2 separate regions of the Homo sapiens genome follow, and region 1 is linked to region 2. Evidence: promoter capture Hi-C in 16 types of primary human blood cells and fetal thymus (Javierre and others, 2016). All regions are on one chromosome and are shown on one strand. Each heading gives the region's core, a stretch centred on a gene start or on the middle of the fragment in contact. The rest is flanking DNA. Distances are from core to core; before and after follow the strand shown.

What was found. The method cuts DNA at HindIII sites, captures the fragments that hold promoters and counts their contacts. A CHiCAGO score of 5 or more calls a contact.
Region 1: a contact is called between a fragment that was not itself captured here and the fragment with the promoter of CCNA1 in region 2, in 1 of 17 cell types (M2 macrophages). The highest score is 6.1, in M2 macrophages.

The regions. Positions count from the first base shown.
Region 1 is chr13:36,305,292-36,311,882 of GRCh38, forward strand. All of the region lies in intron 8 of SPART (spartin), which reads right to left. Among named protein-coding and RNA genes, the nearest start is that of CCDC169-SOHLH2, 11 kb to the left of the region's middle. The HindIII fragment of the contact is 1,745 bases long and covers 479-2,223 here.
Region 2 is chr13:36,428,011-36,435,364 of GRCh38, forward strand. CCNA1 (cyclin A1) reads left to right here and starts at 4,485. Exons shown (of 9, transcript NM_001413923.1): 1 at 4,485-4,719; 2 at 5,023-5,211. The coding sequence starts at 5,047. RefSeq lists silencers at 3,789-3,858, 4,139-4,188, 4,219-4,378. The HindIII fragment of the contact is 15,627 bases long and covers 1-6,396 here.

The sequences.
Region 1 (6,591 bases), core at 101-2,600, 130 kb before region 2:
TGCCTTTTTCCACATGCCCACCTCCACCTCTTGACAATCGATTCCCCTTTACACTGCTTTTTTTCTCCCATTACTTACCACTTTCTACATACTATAGAACTTATTAATTATCACTGTTCATGTCTTGCTTCTCTCACTAGAATGTAAACCCTATTGGAGAGGAGAATCTTACCTTTGTCCTTTAACATATCCTAAACATTGAGAATAGTACCTGATATTCAATGAATATTCACTGAATGAATGAAATCAGTAATTCCTGCCCTATCTGCCTCAGAGTTTTTTGAGCATCAAATGCATAGCAAGTGCTTGGGAAATTATAAAGCATATACAAAAGAAGTTATTATTGATAATAATAATATCTGCATTTAATACTATTTCTATGATAAAATACAATTTGAGGTCCTATACAGGCACACCAAAACACATTTCCCTACTGTTTTGTTTTACTCTTTACCCCATTTTGGTAACAGGCTTTTAAAGCTTTTCTTGTCCACAGATTTCCCCCAAATAGAGGACTGTTTAAACAACAAACAAAACAAAGAGGCAAAAGTTTACATTTTCTCCAGGACACAGTGAAGTTTCCTAGATGCTTTATGACCTATATCTGGACATCTTATATAACACTAGATCTGCCTTTTGAATTAACAAGTCCTCTATTACTAAATAGCCTGGCCTAGAACAGTGGTTTGTGATCCCACCGGCTTGTTTGTGCTTGGCTTTTTTAACCCCAGTGTGAAATAATCTTATAGTGCCCCTAAAGGATGATTCTATTCTGTCCTTTGCCTAATGTTAATAATTATATTAGAGCTAGCACACAGCAGAGCCTAGTCTGTCAAACCTTCCAAGTCTGTACTACTCTTAATTGGGGGCCTTCTCACCAGTCAACAGACAGAAAAACTTCCTACAACTGCTTCGGACAGTCCCTGTTATGCAACCCCTCAGCATTCCACAGGATTTGCTGATAGTGCAGGAGATGCACCATTGCTGATGGTGCCTTCTCATTGTCAACCAAGCCCCAGTAACAAATACTACTGTCAGGTGGTAATGGCTGTGTCTATACAAAAAGAAAGGTATCAGCAGTTTCAGCACTGAAAAACAGTGACCGTAACTCTTGGTGGAGCCGGTTTCCCTGAGGGCTTATTTTTCCAGAACCATGTGAGCTACAATGAAGTGACACCATAACTCAACATAACTCACAACATAACTCACAGTCATGTTTTCAAGCATAGGAAATCCTCCATATTCACAAACTTCCACTTCTGAGAATTTGGAATGTTCCCTATTCCACTGATACAGTTTGATACCTCCAGCTGCACTCATATTTCTGTATGTAACACAGTTCTAAAAACTACATTGTCTTTAATAACGTACTAAAAATGAATTTGTTTTGCACCTTGTTAATTTTGTCTGTTTTTCTATGCTATCTCCAATGTCAGTAACAATTCCTATTAATTTGGGAAAAAAAAACAGAATATTCAGAAAACTAGATTCTAATGCCAACTATGCCAGTAACTAGCCATATGACCTTGGTCAAGTTTCTACCTCTTTACATATCATCAACTTTCTCTTCTTTATCTCAAAAAAACGATGTATATGTGTGAAAGCAGTTTTAAAATTCTAAAATACTAAACATGTATTTTTAAATATACTATAAAACAGCTTTTCATCAGTTGTATTTATTTTTTAATATATCCTCAACTATCACTCCTGCTTTCCAATATGCCTTAGAACTAGTTTTCCTAATAGGCATATGTTCTTTTCTTCATAAATAACTGTTTAGTCCTTTTCTTCAGATTCAAACTATACTGCTATAAACTCCTAGAAAGCATATGTCTGGGAGGAAGTTAAATTTATTTTTGATCTCTTATTTTTAAACAAATTTACTTTAATTAGAGCTCATTAAGTCGGATTTTATATACTAACACTACCAATTGAAAAATAATAAAAAATGAATGTGAAGTAGGCCTAAATAAGTCAACGAGATTCAAAACTACAATTGAACCAGATTTTTCTGAAATTTCTCCAATGTGTTCAGTTATACAAAACTGGTTTTGGGTAATATGACACCTGTCATTGAAGTTACCCCTTCATCCAGTGCAAATTTAGGAGGAATTTTAATTAAATTTCACTAAACAAACCAATAAATCAGCTACACTTAACTATAGCATAGTACCAAAAACCATAAAACAGTAAATTTTCTACAGGAAAAAAAGTCTATTATTAAGCTTATGTTCCACAAATATATATTCAAAGAAAATATTGCTGGGGAAAATAAAAATAGATCTAACTATCAAAGCTATATTATTATTCTTTAAACACTTTAAAGTGGAATAAAAGAAGCTTAAAGGTGAAACTTAAGCTTCATATGTAGAATGATGAATTATTGAATAGGTACTATACCGCAATTAAGTGTAGCAGGTTTAAAGTTACTTATTGTTTTTCATTATTCCTGTATGTCTTCACATCCCCAAATATAAGACAAAAGTATTAATGTAACTGACAAAAATAAACTGAATCTTAATGAATATTTTTTATGCATTTAGCTAAAAATTTTAAGAGTATAGTTATTTAATCCTTTGTACTGGCTTATCCACCTGAAATCAGATAAGGAAGTTTATATAATACATTTGGTTTTCTCCCAAGCATAAAATTAAAGGACATTTAAAATAACTATTTTGGAGAGCAATCGCTTATCACAGGCAATTAAGAACACAAATTTCCCTTATTATACTACCATCAGTTCGATTTGAGTACTCCACAAATGGTCATTCTATCAAATACTTTTTGATAGTAAACTTAAATACAGAAGAGTGTAAATAAACCTAAGTGTATGTAAACAAATAAGAACAAAATTAAACAAAGGTACAACAAGCTTTTCCATTTCTTCAGTTCTATCACTAAGTTATTACTGGTTCAATACTTTTAGTTTCTTCTCTTAAAAGACATTTTCTACTTTGGGCCAGATTAGCTCCAAAGGTGAGAAACAGTATTACTTAGATAAAATCTTTTATTCCCTACTGCCTCTCCCATCCTTCTAAATTTCTAATAGCAGAAACTAAATTACTGCTAAGACTGAATCATCCTCATAGTTAGAAATACAAAGCTACTTAACTAAATTCTCACTTACCTGGTTTTTATTTAAATTCCATGAATCTTTGGAAGAAAGGATAAAAAGAATAGCAATAATACAATAGAAATAAATGAGCTGAGAATCACTGTTAAAAATATGCTATTTATCATATTAAGTTCTCATTAAGGACCAGAAGTACAAAATCTACATTAAAATCCAGTATTTCCTAGTTATGTGAATCCCAAACTTTTAATAAGCTAATTGTAGTTAGGTAAGTTTTTTTTTTTTTTTTTCATTAGAGTAGGCCATAAAACCCAACAAAGCACTTCCTATTTTCTAATATGATAATCTAAAAATAATTCACTTTTGGCCTGAAAGGCATTTCTGAATTTCTCCTGTTCTTGCTACAAATAAAGAACTATTTTTCTAATTATGACTGATCCAAAGTAACCTCAGGGTCATAAAACAATGAATGAATATTAGAGTTCAGGCCACAGGTGACAAGAAGTGAGTTGGAAGACTTGAGTTTCATATTTCTATCAGAAGAATTTGAGATCTATTGTATGTTTTATCTCTCAACTCTTGGTAAAACTGATACTCTGGCCAGGTGTGGTGGCTCACGCCTGTAATCCCAGAACTTTGGGAGGCCGAGGTGGGCAGATCACGAAATCAGGTGATCAAGACCATCCTGGCTAACACAGTGAAACCCTGTCTGTACTGAACATACAAAAAATTAGCCGGTCATGGTGGCGGACACCTGTAGTCCCAGCTACTAGGGAGGCTGAGGCAGGAGAATGGTGTGAACCTGGGAGGCGGAGGTTGCAGTGAGCCAAGATTGCGCCACTGCACTCCAGCCTGGGTGACAGAGTGAAACTCCGTCTCAAAAAAAAAAAAAAAACTGACACTCCAAAATGATATGCCACATTGCTTTGATTTGATTCAAAGGTATGTATGTCCCAGAATGTAAACTAGTTCAGCCACTTTTGGGAGATATCTCAAAAAACTTAAAATGGAATTACCATTTGATACCCAAAAGAAAATAAACTGTTCTATCAAAAAGACACATGCACTCACTCACATGTTCACTGCACTATTCATAACAGCAAAGACATGGGATCAACCTAGGTACCCATCAACAGTGGACTGCACAAAGAAAACATGCTAATATATACACCATGGAATACTACACAGCCCTAAAAAAATGAAATCATATCCTTTGCAGCAACATGGATGCAGCTGGAGGCCATTATTCTAAGCGAATTAATGCAGGAACAGAAAACCACATGTTCTCACTTATAAATGGGAAATAAACACTGGATACTCATGGACATAAAGATGACAACAATAGACACTGGGGATTACTAGGCCGGGGAGGGAGGAGGGGAGTGTGAGCTAAAAGACCATCTATTGGGTACTATGCTTACTACCTGAGTGATGGGATCATTTGTACCCCAAACCTCAGCATCACACAACAAATTCTATGTAACAAGCCTGCACATGTACCCTTTAATCTATAATAATAGTTGAAATTATAAAAAAAGTAAAAATAAAGCAATTCCTACTTCCTATCTTAAAACAAACAAACAAATGTATTCATGCCCCAGACGGAGCAGATCGAACCAATTAAGGATGGAAATTAAATTAGCACTGTAGAGCACAGGTTCTGATGACAGAAACACTTGGTTTATATCCCAGCTCTACTATTCACTAGGAGAGTAATCTTTAACAAGGTATTTAACTTTACATTTCGGTTTCCTCATCTGCAAAATGGAGATAACAGTGTTGAAAATTAATTAATACGTAGGAAAAGCAATGATCACAGTGCCTAATACAAAAGTATGAACTCAACTAAATGCTGTCAATAAGTGGATAATTAACATAAATAACCACGAGTTGTGAATACTATCAATATTGCTCTTCTTTTTTCTTTCTAAATAAATAGTAAGATCCAAACTAATTCAAGGCTAAGAAAGCAACTCAGGTCCTTCATACTAGATTTATTTTTTAGACCTTGATTCTTCTAGTATTGTATAAAGAAAGTAGAGTCAGGTAGAAAGAATAAGGAGCTAAAAGCAGAAGACCCTGCTTTACTCTCACCTTCAATACCACTTGTATAAATTTGTTATATAGTTGTTGCTTCAGCATTTATTTTTAGGCCTGACATAAGTTGCTTGAAACCTAGTTGTATCCCACCACCTTTGGCCTAGTTAAAACTTCTCTCTCCCCCATGCGGTTGTCTGCAATACAGTATACTTGTTTCTCATCTCACTGACTCAAAACCCAACACACCCCCACAGCTGCTGACCACGAGAAAATCCAATGGTCAACACTAGAGTCATGTAAAACTAGAGCCATGTAAATGTTCCCCTGTTCACACTTGTTTTCTTTAAACTAGTCAATCCACAGGCCCCACTGGAAAGCCAAAGGAAGAACACCCATAGACTTTCGTGAAGGCAGTCACACAAATCACCTCTCCCTTGCTCGTGCTCCCTTGTTCACCCACCCTCGCCCCACCCACTGGTTGAGCACTCTGCTATCTCCAGACTTCCTGTTGGCCCTCATGCATACCGCTCTTCTCTCAAGGGTCTGTGAGTAATAAAAAGTTTCTGTTATTTCGTGTGTTTGGTTGTGCTGCCTTCTCTGTGTGTCACCTGACCAACACACCCAAACCTTGCTCTCCTCCTAGTCAGGGTCTCCTAGAGAGTAGCTATCTTAGTAGGAATAAACTGGACACAGGTCAGAAAAGAGCCACAAGGGCATCTGCCATAAACAAGTTCCCTGAGAGAGGGACACCTGGTCATGGGTGTGCCAGGATAAAGAAGTATCCTGTGAAACGCACACTGAAAACATTCACGAGATTTTTTCCTCTTGAGCCACAACACAGCAGGATTAGAATTTATAGCCACTCTCCAGAGACAGACCTTAAGGCCAAATAAGAAAGCAATCATAACACTAATCAGGTGAGTTTGTGCAAATCATTCATTTCTGTTTGTCCATTTCTTAATATATGAAATTGAAGATATACCATCTACCCATTCCAATACAAATGTACAGTGGTAATCAGAGTCAAGTAAGATGTGACATAATTTTTAACAGTCTGTATACCGAGTGGGCTAATATTAACATGGGGTATAAGAGTTTAATTATAATTCAAGTTTTTTCAGGCAGATATCACCCATCAAAAACATGTAGTCAGTTAATAAGGTATACAGAAATTCCAGGCTTTTAAAAAAAATAACCTTATTCTTCACAGTAATGATGAACAAATGTTTATAATGATTAGTAACATAAAGCAAAGTGACAAGAATTCTGTTATTATACTAGAAATACTATTCTTCTCCCTATTTAAGAAAAGCAGTGAGTGAAAAAAATTATTTTATCAGATACTTAATAAAAATATCTTGACCGTCATGGGTTTTTACAAATGCTACAAGAGATTTAGTCCGCCAGGCATGGTGGCTTACGCCTGTAATCCCAGCACTTTGGGAGGCTGAGGCAGGCAGATCACCTGAGGTCAGGAG
Region 2 (7,354 bases), core at 3,235-5,734:
TTTTCCTTGCCTGGAGGAACAGCTCCTTGAGGGCAGGGATCATTTTTTATTATCGTACTCATACCCAGCTACTGCCTGGCATACAATGGATGCTCAAAAAACTTTGCCAAATGAATGAATGAACAGTAGACTTTGTCTAATCTCATGTATGTATTCATACCATTTTCACTTGGAGAAGGTGACTTCTTACAAGTCTTAATGAAAACTTACTTCACCCATTATGTACTAAGGGATCCACGTTTCACTACCTGATGAAATATGCTTCTTAAGGTGTGTACAGTTTTGGCTGCTTTTCAAGCTGGACTTGCTCAATCCGTTAGTCATCTTCCCTGGAGCTAAGTGCTAAAATGTCACAAATTGCAGCTGGTTCCTTGTTTCTTTCCAACATATATCTCTCATTTTACTGTTCAAACTATGTTCTTAGTTAAATGTATACCTGAGAATGACAGAGGCATGTTATGAAGAGGCAACATATGTCCCTAAATGGACCTCTGTCCCTAAATAAACTTGGCGGGTTTTTTTTTAAATCTTTCTTTCAGCCTCATCCTGAAAAACAACCTGATTTCATACTAATTAATAAAAACTGAAATGTTTCAACAGGAGGTTAATTACTAGCTAGGATGAACAAATGCAATAGAAAAACTGCCTCTGAAATACCGGGTAATTGCTGACAAACTGAAAGGACTGTCTGAATTGTAATTTGGACAAGGGAATTGATTTTAATAGGACTTTTGGGTTTTAAAAATTCCTAGTAAAGGGCCGGGCACGGTGGCTGACGCCTGTAATCCCAGCACTTTGAGAGGCCGAGGCAGGCAGATCACGAGGTCAGGAGATCGAGACCATCCTGTGTAACATGGTGAAACCCCGTTTCTACTAAAAATACAAAAAAAAAATTAGTCGGGCCTGGTGGCGGACGCCTGTAGTCCCAGCTACTTGGGAGGCTGAGGCAGGAGAACGGCGTGAACCTGGAAGGCGGAGCTTGCAGTGAGCCGAGATCACACCACTGCACTCCAGCCTGGGTGAGAGCGAGACTCCGTCTCAACAACAACAACAACAAAATTCCTAGTAAAGAATTCAGCTGTCATCCTTATTTTGAAAATTAATCCTAGAGTTAAAGCTAGTTGAGCATTCACTGCCAGGTTGGAAGTGCCGACCAATGAACTTTTTAAGTTAAAAAAAAAGGGGTTATATTAGTATTTAAGTTATGCCAAATATTTTAGATATTAAAGAAAGTTGTATTTACAATTATATTGTTTAATTCTCAATATATTACCAAATATATAGTTTATTTAAAGATGGGAAAAATTAAAATCTACTTATGTTTGAGTTCTAATCCTATTTTGCTATGCAAATCTAATCCTGATTTGCATAGCAAAATCAAGATTAGATTATAATGTTGCTAAATGCAACATTATAATTATGCATTCCACTAAAACTGTGCAATTTGTGAGAAAGTCCTTTCTACTCTCTCTGCTCCTTTTGTTCTTAATTCTAAGGCCAAGTTTTTAGTTTAGATTTTTAAAGTAAAAATGGAACACCTATTCAGTTAAATTTGTTTTTATGTCATAAATCATTACTCGTTGGAACACAATATTCAGTGAAGACTTTTTTTTTTTTTTTGATATGGAGTCTTGCTCTGTCACCAGGCTGGAGTGCAGTGGCATGATCTGGGCTCACTGCAACCTCTGCCTCCCGGGTTCAAGCTACTCCCCTGCCTCAGCCTCCTGAGTAGCTGGAACTACAGGCGCGCGCCACCACGCCCAGCTACATTTTGTATTTTTAGCAGAGACAGGGTTTCACCATGTTGGCCAGAATGGTCTCGATCTCTTGATCTCGTGATTCGCCTGCCTCGGATTCCCAAAGTGCTGGGACTACAGGCGTACGCCACCGTGCCCGGCCTCAGTGTAGATATTTTTTAAAGCCAAGAAAGCCATAAGTATTGCACAAGTTATACACGTACCTGAATTTACATGCACACATAGATATCAGTTCATGGGACTCACTCTCCTGTTTAAGATATGACCAGAGGCTTGTAACGACAATGTAGAATTCTAAGACAGCACAATAAAACAATCATAAACTAACCACTTCCCTTTGCCAAGTTTAGCAAAGTGGATGGAACAGGAAAAAAGATGTTCATGATAATCCTATTTCATATAGATTAAGGCTGGATTAAGGTGCAGCCATTCAGATAAGGGGAGGGGTATTAAATTATCCGAAGGTCTCATTTGGTTACTATTATTTCTTAAGGCTTTTTTAAGGCTAAAGACGGCTGAAAGTCACTGGACACCTTTGTAGCCTTGTCATCTGGTCCTGGCCAGATCTGAGTTGAGAAAAACCAGCCTCAGATCCGCCTCTGCAGGAGTTGGGCGCTCCCCACTCCCTGCACGCCCCGACTCCAACACTGGCTTCAGCTTCAATCCCAGAAAAGTGGATCAAAACGACAGGTTCCACGAACAAACACTGCGCCGGCGCCTCTACTTTGGAGAAAAGGAAAAGGGCGTGAGGTTTCGGTCATTTTTGTCAAAGGAAATCAGATGAAAAGGGGTGTACAAAGGACCAGGTCTCGTGAGCGCAGCCAATCTTGTCCGCTCCCAAGCGACTCAGGCTCTTGGCAGGACTTGCTGTAGAGTCCCAGACGGAGTTAGCCACTGAGTCCTTCAGCGACCCAGGAAATAACAACACTGTTGGCAGGTGGGGGAGGGCGCCCGGGAAGATATCCAATAGTGGCGTCAGGCAAGAGGACAGAAATGCTCCTTTCATTCACCTTTCGAAGCAGAGCATTTGGTCCCCGTTGGCCTCTGACTCTCTGTTGCGGCAATCTAGATGTTACCAGAATTCCCGTGTTTCCTTCATATTCAAAGGCACAGGAAATCTGGGGTGCAAGCGGACTGCTGTCTCTCAAGGAATAGAAGTCTGTGACAAACGTATAGAAATGAGTTTCATGTTGAACAAGATCCGTTTCTGCGTTCCTCCCTCATCCAGCCTTGATTCTCCAGATGCTTACCAACTTCTTAATATTTACCTCAACTGCAAGGCTTTCAACCGGCGCTTTTGTTAGAATACTACTATCTTCCCATTAAAGCAATGTCCACACTCAGTTTGCTTGGTGAAAATGTTAATAACGCACACTTAGAAAAACGGTGATAACCGTTGCTTGCATAAAGTGGCCATTTGAATAGACTTTGGATCTGATTTAGAGATTTAGGGATGGATGTTTTAAAAAAAGCAAAAGTAGTAACAGACTATAGCATTGGTAATGTGTGTGTGCATATATACATATTATTTTTAAAAAAATAAAGTTCGATTATTTCACCTGGCTTGTCAGTCACCTATGCAGGCGTCTGAGCCCCCGGGTTTCCAGGAGCCCCCCGTATAAGGACCCCAGGGACTCCTCTCCCCACGCGGCCGGGCCGCCCGCCCGGCCCCCAGCCCGGAGAGCTGCCACCGACCCCCTCAACGTCCCAAGCCCCAGCTCTGTCGCCCGCGTTCCTTCCTCTTCCTGGGCCACAATCTTGGCTTTCCCGGGCCGGCTTCACGCAGTTGCGCAGGAGCCCGCGGGGGAAGACCTCTCGTGGGGACCTCGAGCACGACGTGCGACCCTAAATCCCCACATCTCCTCTGCCGCCTCGCAGGCCACATGCACCGGGAGCCGGGCGGGGCAGGCGCGGCCCGCAAGGACCCCCGCGATGGAGACGCAACACTGCCGCGACTGCACTTGGGGCAGCCCCGCCGCGTCCCAGCCGCCTCCCGGCAGGAAGCGTAGGTGTGTGAGCCGACCCGGAGCGAGCCGCGCCCTCGGGCCAGCGTGGGCAGGGCGCCGCAGCCTGCGCAGCCCCGAGGACCCCGCGTCGCTCTCCCGAGCCAGGGTTCTCAGGAGCGGGCCGCGCAGGAGACGTTAGAGGGGGTTGTTAGCGGCTGTTGGGAGAACGGGTCACGGAAACAGTCCCTTCCAAAGCCGGGGCCATCGTGGGGTGGGCGAGTCCGCCCTCCCAGGCCGGGGGCGCGGACCAGAGGGGACGTGTGCAGACGGCCGCGGTCAGCCCCACCTCGCCCGGGCGGAGACGCACAGCTGGAGCTGGAGGGCCGTCGCCCGTTGGGCCCTCAGGGGCCTGAACGCCCAGGGGTCGCGGCGAGTCCACCCGGAGCGAGTCAGGTGAGCAGGTCGCCATGGCGATGCGGCCCCGGAGAGCGCACGCCTGCCGCGGTCGGCATGGAAACGCTCCCGCTAGGTCCGGGGGCGCCGCTGATTGGCCGATTCAACAGACGCGGGTGGGCAGCTCAGCCGCATCGCTAAGCCCGGCCGCCTCCCAGGCTGGAATCCCTCGACACTTGGTCCTTCCCGCCCCGCCCTTCCGTGCCCTGCCCTTCCCTGCCCTTCCCCGCCCTGCCCCGCCCGGCCCGGCCCGGCCCTGCCCAACCCTGCCCCGCCCTGCCCCGCCCAGCCGGCCACCTCTTAACCGCGATCCTCCAGTGCACTTGCCAGTTGTTCCGGACACATAGAAAGATAACGACGGGAAGAGCGGGGCCCGCTTTGGGGTCCAGGCAGGTTTTGGGGCCTCCTGTCTGGTGGGAGGAGGCCGCAGCGCAGCACCCTGCTCGTCACTTGGGATGGAGACCGGCTTTCCCGCAATCATGTACCCTGGATCTTTTATTGGGGGCTGGGGAGAAGAGTATCTCAGCTGGGAAGGACCGGGGCTCCCAGATTTCGTCTTCCAGGTAACGTGGGTTTAGTATCCCGACTTGGAGGCTTGTCAGAATGTTTCTCTCCTTCCAGCCCAACACGAAGTCTTGGGATAAAAAGCCTCCCTCAGGGATTCAAATAACTGTTTTGATTCAGAGCAACTTTGATCGCCTGTGCGGTCGCACCTGCCCTTTCAGCCCCAATAATTACTGGGAAGATCAGCAATTGGTGTTAGTCCCATTGCTTGGTGCTCTCCCTCCTAGAGGTTCGCTGTGTCCTTGGAGCCCGGGGTGGACGGAATCGACTAAACAGCTTGTCTGTTTCTCTTTCCCTGGTAGCAGCAGCCCGTGGAGTCTGAAGCAATGCACTGCAGCAACCCCAAGAGTGGAGTTGTGCTGGCTACAGTGGCCCGAGGTCCCGATGCTTGTCAGATACTCACCAGAGCCCCGCTGGGCCAGGATCCCCCGCAGAGGACAGTGCTAGGGCTGCTAACTGCAAATGGGCAGTACAGGAGGACCTGTGGCCAGGTAATGACTCAGACGCATTGAGAATGATGCTTGTGGAGAACAGCTCTCCTGCTTTGGTGCCAGGTGCTTTTCTCTTGCCCTTGTACCTACAACTCCCCCTGAGTATTACAACCCTGGAATCTGGACTACAGGAAAGTTGATTGATTTATTTTCTTTCTTTCTTTCTTTCTTTCTTTCTTTCTTTCTTTCTTTCTTTCTTTCTTTCTTTCTTTCTTTCTTTCGTTCTTTCTTTCTTTCTTTTCTTTCTCTTTCTTTCCTTCTTTCTTTTTCTTTGTTTCTCTTCCTTCTTCCTTTCCTTTTTTTTTCTTTCCTTTCCTTTCCTTCTTTTTTTTTTTTTGAGACGGAGTTTCGCTCTTGTCGCCAGGCTGGAGTGCAGTGACGCGATCTCGGCTCACTGCAACCTCCACCTCCCGGGTTCAAGCGATTCTCCTGCCTCAGCCTCCCGAGTAGCTGGGATTTCAGGCACCCACCACCACGCCCGGCTAATTTTTGTGTTTTTAGTAGAGATGGGATTTCACCATGTTGGCCAGGCTGGTCACCAACTCCTGACCTCAGGTGACCCGCCCACCTCGGCCTCCCAAAGTGTTGGGATTACAGGCGTCAGCCACGGTGGCAGGCCAGTTGATTTCTTAAGATCACCTTGAGGGGTTCGGTTTTCAGCTAGAAATAGTGATTAGTTTTCTTTGTTATTTTTTCCACTATCAAGGAAATAGGTCTAGGAACTGTTTGGGTTATGTATATTAAAGTAATTTAAGGGCTGGGCTAAAAGGAAATGTGAATGCTTCCAAATAAACTGTGGAACTGGGGTTCCTCCAGGTTAGAGCAGTGTTCACATTGATGCAGGCTGTGCCTAAAGCAAACCTGGATAATCTTGGCTGTGTTCATTGCGGATAGTGTTAAAATCAGGATTAGATCAGGCTAGATTAGATTACTCCAAAATGGGTGCTTTGAAGGCAGACATCTTCCCAGTACTGACTAAGCAGCTATGCTAACAGGTAATGGTCCCTCAGATATTAGTTGTGTGAACTTAACTGATCATAGATACCTTAACCAGACTGAAAACTATACCTTTCCTATTTCATAAGTGAGAAAATCTGAAAGGTTTAAGCCTCTGCCAAAAGAAAGCTATGGTAGAAACTAGATTAGAAGCCTCTCATCTACTGACTCTTCACATGCTCTGTTCAAAGCTTTGGAGAAAATTGAGTGGAAGTGGTTTTAACAAATTTTAATTTGCTTAGCAATGTTTGCTTTTTAAAACTTAACGCCTGAGACTTGGTTCTTATGAATTGTCAGTTGTGCCTGTGTTGAATGGTCGCATTTTAAATTCCCAGTTGCTAACCTCTTATGTTACCTGGTGCCACTTCTGCATTTCCCTGTACCTATCCTCTACAACCTGCTTAGAAATCTATTTTGTACCTTCCCTTCTCTGTTTAATCCTCAGTAACCTCCTCCTTCATGCCCAGTCTCAGCTGATCACTTTGTATCTTATTTTCCTAAAAATATAGAAGCAAGCAGAAGAGAATCTCCACATGTCCCTGTGTGCCATATAATCTGCCATCTACATCCTGTTATGTGACTGCTATGTCCCTGCTGTCATGAGAGGTGCCCCCCCCCCCGCGCCATGCGTACAATATACTCGTGTCTTCTTGCTTCTTCAAGGATGTTACTCTAGCCACTTTTCTTTCTCTCATGAGTTTTTTCTTTTCTACTGGGCCAAATCTGTAAGCATACAAATATATTGCCATTTTCCCATCTTAAAAACCTTTCAACTAAACGCTCCCTCTGAGTATTACAACCCTGGAATCTGGACCACAGGGAAGAAGTTGACTTTGTAAAATCACCTTGACCGGTCCCTTTTTCAGCTAGAAATGGTGACGAATTTTCTTTGTTAGTTTTCCAATATCAAGGAAATAGGTCTAGGAGCTGTTTGCATTATGTCGATTAAAGTAATTTAAGTGCTTAAAGAAATTTAAGTAATGGGACAGAAGCTATCCCATTTAAAGCCACATATCTTGAGAGTTTGTCGTATCTTGACATATATAATGTTGCCTTTCCCACTAACATGTAAGCTCCATCCAGGTGTTGATTTAGGTTGTCATGTTCACTGTTGTGTGTCCATTACTTTGAACAGACCTGGGCCTGG